Linked DNA regions of Homo sapiens: region 1 is linked to region 2. The links are contacts of gene promoters, found by promoter capture Hi-C in blood cells and fetal thymus (Javierre and others, 2016). All regions are on one chromosome and are shown on one strand. The core of a region is centred on a gene start or on the middle of the fragment in contact, and the rest is flanking DNA. Distances in the headings are between cores, read along the strand shown.

Region 1 (3,766 bases), core at 128-2,627, 74 kb after region 2:
TTTTAGATTTGGGGGCACATGTGAAGGTTTGTTACATAGGTAAACACATGTCTTTGGGGTTTGTTGTACATATTATTTCATCACCCAGGTATTAAGCCCAGTACCCAATAGTTATCTTTTCTGCTTCTTCCTCCCACCCTCCCAGATCAAGTAGACCCCAGTGTCTGCTGTTCCCTTCTTTGTTTTCATAAGTTCTTATCATTTAGCTCCCACTTATAAGAGCTGGAGGCTATTATCCTTGGTGAACTAACTTAGGAACAGAAAATCAAATACCTCATGTTCTCATCAACCTGTTCTTAAACCAAATGCACCACTTCAAAGCCCTGAGTCTTAATGGTATGTTATCATGATGGTCATTTTTCAGAGTAGGAAGTTCAGTTACGCATCTCAGACTCCTTTGAGAGTCAGAAGAAAAAAACCAAGCACACACCCCCAACATAAAACCATGAAGAAATTCCAGTTTTTATTTCTTATATTTCCCCAGGTTCTTGGCTCAAGGAAGATGTATAATTGTCTTCAGCATAAACTGAAGTTAATGAAGTATGGGACTGTACTTTATTAAAAAGAAACATTTTAAAAGCTCTTGTTCTTAATTTTTATTCAAATTTCTCAATCTTCTTTGGCTAAGTAGCCAAGAGTTAGATCTATTCGCCATGAGCCAGATGACTGCCCTTGGATGTTCAAGATGGAACTCCGTTGAAGTCTGCAGGGGTTGTGTTCATTAGAATTCCCAGGGGTTGTGTGTTACCAAGCCCTTGTCATAAGTTATATCAAATTCCCTCATCCCTGAAATGGAAGTATCGTTCTGGCTGTCGTGCTGCCTTCTCCGTATCTTATTTGTTTTCACTTTAATGTTACAAGAAAAGACAGCTTTTGTCTTTATTTCTGGTTAGCAGTCCTCATGAATATGCATTAGCAGGTTCCCTTTCTAGCTACTGTTTTGTAATTTGTTATTTTTAAATGAAATCTGAAGTGAAAATAACTCCCAATTCTCACTTTAATATGTTTGGATTCTTAATCTTGATTTTGGAGGTCCTGAGCCAGACAGGAGTGACTTTAGAAGGCTGTTTGCCTAGGCAACACCAAGGGGTGTGTGTGTGTGTGTGAGAGCGTGTGTGTGTGTGTGGTGTGACTCAGTGGTTGAATAGATGGGACTACATTGGAACACACTTCCAGAGCCTCTGCAGGACACTGTGGTGGGCATTACAGCCACTGTGTCATTTCATTTTCACAACAGCACTGTGAGGCAAGTATAATTATATCCCTTTGGGAACTGAAGCTTAGGGAAAGTTAGTGATTTCCTCCAATTCACAAACTAGTAAATGAAAGAAGGGGAGCAGGTGATGAGAGAGGTCATTGAAATGTGAGTGTTCCACAGTGCTTTTCTGGTTGTTTTCCTAGAAATTGATAGTGGGTAATTTGGGGGTAATTACTTTACAGAGTCAATATGGGGTGTTTTTGGTATATTAAGCTTTTAAGAAAAGTGATACTAAACTTGGGCTGCTCTGAGCAGAGCCTGCTGTTCCTGTCCTTGCTTAATCTGGAGACTCAGTGCTAGTACTTAGATGCCAGGGTACCTCTACAGATTGCCCTGTTAGTTTAGGGTTTTCTTTTTTCTTTCTTCTTTCCTTTTTTAGAGATGGAGTCTCATTCTGTTGCCTAGGCTGGAGTGCAATGCTGCAGTCATAGCTCACTGCAGCCTCGAACTCCTGGGCTTAAGCAATCCCCCTGCCTCAGCCTTCCAAGTAGCTGGGACTACAGGTGCATGCCACTGTACCTGGCTAATTAAAAAAAATTAATTTAATTAAAAAAATAGAGATGGGGTCTCACTTTGTTCCCCAGGCTGGTCTCAAACTCCTGAACTCAAGTGATCCTCCTGCGTCAGCCTCCCAAAGTGCTGGGATTAGAGGCATGAACCACCGCGCCCAGCCTTGTTAGTGTTTCCTTGACTGGATAATGCTACCAAACTCTACCTTTACCTGTTTCTAAAGAGTTTTTTTCTACATTCAAAAAAAAAAAAAATCTCTGTTCCTCTGGAAAGCAAAATCTCCCTCCTCCGGAAAGCAAAACTGATGCAGATCTTCTGTGACTCTGTGGGTTTAGCACCACACAATTTGAAGTTACCATGCACCCCTTCACAGCCTCAGATGCTTTCCTGAATGTCAGCAGGAGCCTCACACTCCCATTTAAGGACTGTTTGTCTAAACTTGCTAGTCAGGCAACTAATCTCTGCACTGTGAAGTCTATTTATTGATTGTTGCATAACAGTCCATCTGTATCTCTCCTTATTTAATGGGGTGGCTATAGACAGAGGAGCCCAGCATACCTGTCTGCCCTAGATAGGATGAGATTACCCTAAAGCCATGTAAAAAATGGTCAAGGCAGGCCAGGCGCAGTGACTCACGGCTGTAATCCCAGCACTATTGGAGGCTGAGGCAGGCGGATCACCTGAGGTCAGGAGTTTGAGACCAGCCTGGCCAACATGGTGAAACCCCGTCTCTATTAAAAATACAAAAAATTAGCCGGGCATGGTGGTACATGCCTGTAATCTCAGCTACTTGGGAGCCTGAGGCAGGAGAATCTCTTGAACCTGGGAGGCGGAGGTTGAAGTGAGCCGAAATCGCACCATTGCAGTCTAGCCTGGGCAACAAGAGTGAAACTCTGTCTCAAAAAAAAAAAAAAAGAAAAAAAAAAATGGTCAAAGCCAATGTTAAGACCAGCTCAAAGCAACTCTTTACTAGCCCTTAACATTTTCTATTGAAATTTGAAACGCTATTTGCCCTTGGATACACAGTGAAGGCCCTTTTTGGATCACAGCAATACTCAAAATTGTCTTTTATCTCCCAGGCAAGATATAATTAGACTATGCAGTTTACCATGTGATTTAGGATATGCAATTAAATAAAAAAGCTGTGGGCAAGAGTATTTTAAAATAGTATTATTTTCTTCCCTTGAGTTTAAAAGTAATACATGTTCACTGCAGACAATTGGGAAAAATGAAGAAAAATGGGAAGACAGTAAAAGTAACACAGGCAAATGATTATTAACTTTTTGATGTTATTTTTCATTACAATGACACATATATAGCTACATACGTATATTTAATCTTCTTGCAAAATAGTTTTAATGGCATTAGTCCTTAGGGTATTAGTGCCAAGCATTTTTCTCCTTTTCAGTTCTTTGTATATTCTTTTATATATTTTTTAAAGATAGGGTCTCTCTGTGTTGCCCAGACAGGACTCAAACACCTGAGCTCAAGCATTCCTTCTGCCTTTGCCTCCTGAGAACTTGGGACTACAGGCATGAGCCACCATGGCTGACTTCTTTTTATTATGAAATGGGATATTACATACATACAAAAGAGAGGGAGAGTAACCCAGTACTCAGGAGCATTTATTAGAGAGATAGGTGGCCTAGATTCTGGTCTTAGAACTACTATTTGCTAGCCTGGAACTTTGGGCAGGAAGATCACTTGAGCCCAGGAAGCTGAGGCTGCAGTGAGCCATGATCATGTCACTGTACTCAGCCTGAGCAACAGAGCAACATCCTGTCTCAACAAAAGATGACCAATCACACAAGAAAACTAGACCCCAAGAGCAAGAAGCAGTAGCTACATCAACAACAAAACCAGATCCTCAAAAAGTTCAGATGTTGGAATTACCAGATACAGACTATAAAATAACTGTAAAGTATGCTTACCATTTTTAAAGAAATGAAAAATAAGCTTGATCAAATCTACAGAGAATAGGAAACCCAAAAAGGGACA
Region 2 (4,249 bases), core at 1,688-4,187:
TCTCACTCTGCCGCCCAGGCTGAAGTGTAGTGGTGTGATCTCGGTTCACTGCAACCTCTGCCTCCTGGGTTCAAGTGATTCTCCTGCCTCAGCCTCCCCAGTAGCTGGGATTACAGGCACACACCACCACGTGTGGCTAACTCTTGTATTTTTAGTAGAGACAGGGTTTCACCATGTTGGCCAGGCTGGTCTCGAACTCTGACCTCAGGTGATCCACCCACCTCAGCCTCCCAAAGTGCTGAGATTACAGGCATGAGCCACCGTACCCAGCCCCAAATTACTTAATTTTAGTTTTTGTTTTGTACTATCACTGTGGTTCCTATCTTCTCCAGAGCTTTTTCTCTTCTGGCTTTGTACTTTTTATTCAAGCATGTATTTACATTACAGACATCTTATCAAATAATTACTGCTTAAACTAGAATTTGCTGAGCACCTATTATGTCCTAGATACTGTCCAGTGCTTTCTTACAATAACCTTATGTATTAAGTATTGTTACTCTACCTGTAAAGGTAAGGGAAACTATACCTGAGAAATCATCACTCACATAAAAAAAAAAGAGAGAGATTCTATTCATGTCCTTATTCTTTCAGCAACCCCCAATAGCCTAAGTAGTCTCCCAGGCATCAGGACTAACCTGGACTTCACCAGGACCAAATATCGTCTGCCTCAACCTGGCTTCATAGACCAGGACTGGAGCCTGAAGAGAAAGAACAATTCTAAGCAGAAGTTCAAGGAGCTGTTTAAAGAGGGTCTTTATGAGATTGTAACACAGGAAGACACAAGCAATGTTGCTTCAGTGCCCGGGGGATAAATTACTACACAGAACCAGGGCAAGAACTGAAGAGAGTAGGGTGTCATTTTCCCACTTGACAGGTTTGCCCTGTGGCATTCACTGGAAAATAATGTGGACCAGAAATCAATGTTTCTCAGTGGCCGGGGTGAGGGGCAATCTTGGAAAACCAGAGTACGAAGTAGAAGGACATGGGAAGGACAGGCAAGACAACCCCAGGATTCTCAGCAATTACTGCAGTGGGGAAGGAACGGAGGGGCCTCAAGTCCTTTACACAGGGCAAAATGATGGGGCAGTGAGAGTTGATTATGGTTATCTGTGGCTTCATTTGTATTGATGAGAAATGTGGTTACACAAAAATAAATAAGACAAATTGTCCTCAAAGAAGTGAAATTTTATGGAGTCAGACATGCAAACAGATCATTAAAAGGTGACCAGCACTATTATAATAGTCCTTACAGAGGAGGTAACAACCAAGTAAGGCTCTGAAGGATGAACAAGAGTTTGCCAAATGAAAAAGAGATGGACCAATATTCTAGCTAGGAGGAACCTCACATGCAGAGGCTTAGAGTTATGGAAAATGGAGAGATAAGTTAGGAGCAGATTGTAAAGAGGCACACCAGGAGATGTGGAATTTACTTTGTAGGCAATAGAGAACCAGCCCACCAGCCCAGACTTTCAAGTAGGGGGATCATGGAATCTTTTTTTTTGCGGGGGGGAAGGTATTTTAGAGGAAAATTTGGACAATTAGTTGAGAGGTGCAAGGTACCACCTGAATGGCAGTTGGGTAAGGACTAGAGTCAGAAGAACCACTGATGGGACTGTGGAAACAACTTGTGCAATGACCCAGCAGCCAGATATCATGCTGGTTCAGGAACCGAGGGAGGCTCTGTGAGGCCAGAGCACATTTGGCTGGAGAAGGAGGAGAGGATGGCAGTAGAAGGAGAAGGAAAAGAAGGCTGCTCACTTGCATGCAGATGCTGTGAGCTGACGGGGCAAGTTCAAATTGAAGTTAGAACAGACCACTGGGGTAGTCAAGACCTTGAAGGATGAACCTGTTTCTTTTTCATTCCTGAATCTTGCCCCAGCACCTTGGAGGCTGGGGGTGGAGGAGGTGGTGAGGTGGGGTGGGGTGGTGAGGAGCTCAGAAAATGTTTTCCTGAATTAGAGAACTGAAGGAATCAAGGCTCCGCTGAGCTCACTAAGCGCTGGAGCCTGCTGTAAGTGGTCAAGTCGGGTGATACCCAGCAGACAAGTAATTTGTGTGCAGACCGGAGTAGATTACGGAGGACCCAAGGGTCAGGCTAAGGATCCTGAACACCATCCACGATAGAGTGGAGACGTGCGCTTCGGAGCCTGAACTATGCAGCAAGCAGTGTGTTTACTCAAATACTATACAGTTGGAAAATCTTAATTCTCGATTTACATTGCCAAAAAAAAAAAAAAAAAATCTCCATAATACTCCCCCATTTGTAAATAAGCAAATCCGAACTAACCCTATTCCTTGGGACCAGAAGACCCAGTTTCTACCGCGGATAGATAGCATCCGCCTTATGCTAAAAGCTCTTTTTTCTGCGGTGGTGGGGGGCGGCGGGGAGTGTTTGGAAAGAACGGTTGCAAAAACAAAACAAAACCCCCAAAACCACTCACCCAATCTCAACCACCCCAACTGATGAATTTCGAAGAAAGTGCTTTTTAAAAAAGAAAAAACTAGAAGACCACAGACCTCCCACAGAAAGCTAAACCCATGAGAGTGGCATTCAAAAACTACCCATTTTCTGGAACATCTTTTGTAGCTAAATCCCAGCCATCCTAGCCCCGGAACACTCCCGCCCTCCGTCCCCGCACCCCCACCCCCGCCGCCACACGCGCTCGCAGGCTGACGGAGGTTGGCGGTGGGGCGGCCGCTCAGGTGAGGGGCCACCCAGTCCCTCGAGGCGCCGGCGGCTGGAGCCCATTCGCTGCCGTCGCAGCAGCAGGGCAAGAGGGGGTTGGCCAGGAGGGGAGGAGGCGGAGGACGCCCGCAGGGAGTGCGGGGGAGGGGGACGGGAGGACGCTAAGGAGAGCCGGGAGGGGCAAAAGCACGGCGCGGGGAGGGGGAGCGGAGAGGGCGGGAGCGGCGGGGGCGCGCGCCGGCGCGGGGCCAGCCTCGCTTCGCCAGGGTCGCTGGCGGACGCGCGCCGCAGTCCGAGCCTCAGACGCGCGGGCGCGGGGGACGGCGCAGGGGCCGCCTGGCTGGAGCAGCCAGAGGGGATAGCTTCGTCGAGAACGGAGGACACCGGCGGTCCAGGGTCCTGGGCAGTCGCGCCAGAGCTGAGCGGAGGGCGCGGCGCGAGAACGTAAGTAGCTCCTTGCGCGTCTGGCGGTGACACTGGGTCCTGCTCGGGGGTGACGGCTGGAGCGGAGGAGGACGCGCGAGGCTGCTGCGTTGTCACTTGGACACCGCCGCGGGGTTCAGCCGAGCGCTCACCGGGCTGGCAGCGCTGCAGGAGGGGCAAAGCAGATCTCCAACTCCCTTCTCCCCTGCAGGCCCCCGACACTCCCGCGGGCGCCGAGAGGGAGCAGGGGGACCTGCGCTTGGGTGAAGGCACAGCTGAAATCCAGCAGCGCCGGCACCCACCACCCCCTCCAGCCTGTGGCCAACTTCTGCTCCGCGCCCGCACCCCACGCTTTCCGGGAAGCCCTGCCCAGAGCTCTTGCTCGTGGGCAGTTGGGCATGGAGAGCCTGCGGGCCCGGCACGGCGGCTTCCCGGGCTTGGACACGGAGGCGCGGGGCGTCACGCCACAGTGCCGGCGGGGCGAGGAGCGCGGGGGCCGGGCCGGGAGCGCACGGGCGTGTGCCTGTTCGGGCCCCTGCGGACACGTCTGGGCGTGGGCTTTGTTCGGAAGTGCGTACACCTGTGCTGACCACGGAGTTCGGGGGCGAGGCCGACTTCGCTTCTCCAGTCGCTGCCTGGAGAGGGCTCGGGGAATCGAGGCGGAACGAGAGAGACACGGAGGACAGAGGGGTGGGGCGCTTGCGGGGGCTTTGTCGGCCTTACAGGTGCGGGTCCCGGGAGTCCCTGCGCCCCGCCCTGCCTCCGAGGGCTGGGACTTGTCGGGGCCGGCGCACCGGGCTGGGGGCTGCCTGGAAAGATTGCTTTCCCAGCCCAGGCTCTTAGCGGTGGGATCTGGCATCCGCTCCGCCCGGGATGCTGTGTTGAGCCAGGAGTGATTACCCGCCCTGGAGCATCCATCTCGCAGCGAGCGCCATCTGCGCCGAGCGCCGCCCCCGGCCCCCTCCACGCCGCGCGGGTGGGCGCTGCCGCATCCTGGTCCCAGGCGGTTGGCCAGCTCAGCTACTCCCGGCCCGCATCTGCTAGAGTGCGGAGGGGGACGGGGTGTCGCAGTAGGGTGAGCAAGGGAGTCGTCATTTCTCCCAAAGCGGTGTCCTCAGGGCCGCAAGCGCTGCTGGAGGG

Evidence for each region. The method cuts DNA at HindIII sites, captures the fragments that hold promoters and counts their contacts. A CHiCAGO score of 5 or more calls a contact.
Region 1: a contact is called between a fragment that was not itself captured here and the fragment with the promoter of NRCAM in region 2, in 1 of 17 cell types (naive B cells). The highest score is 5.1, in naive B cells.

Annotation. Positions count from the first base shown.
Region 1 is chr7:108,380,479-108,384,244 of GRCh38, reverse strand. The region is part of intron 2 of NRCAM (neuronal cell adhesion molecule); the gene reads left to right. Among named protein-coding and RNA genes, the nearest start is that of NRCAM, 74 kb to the left of the region's middle. The HindIII fragment of the contact is 192 bases long and covers 1,282-1,473 here.
Region 2 is chr7:108,455,124-108,459,372 of GRCh38, reverse strand. It overlaps NRCAM (neuronal cell adhesion molecule), which reads left to right and starts at 2,937. Exons shown (of 33, transcript NM_001037132.4): 1 at 2,937-3,130. The HindIII fragment of the contact is 7,436 bases long and covers 1-4,249 here.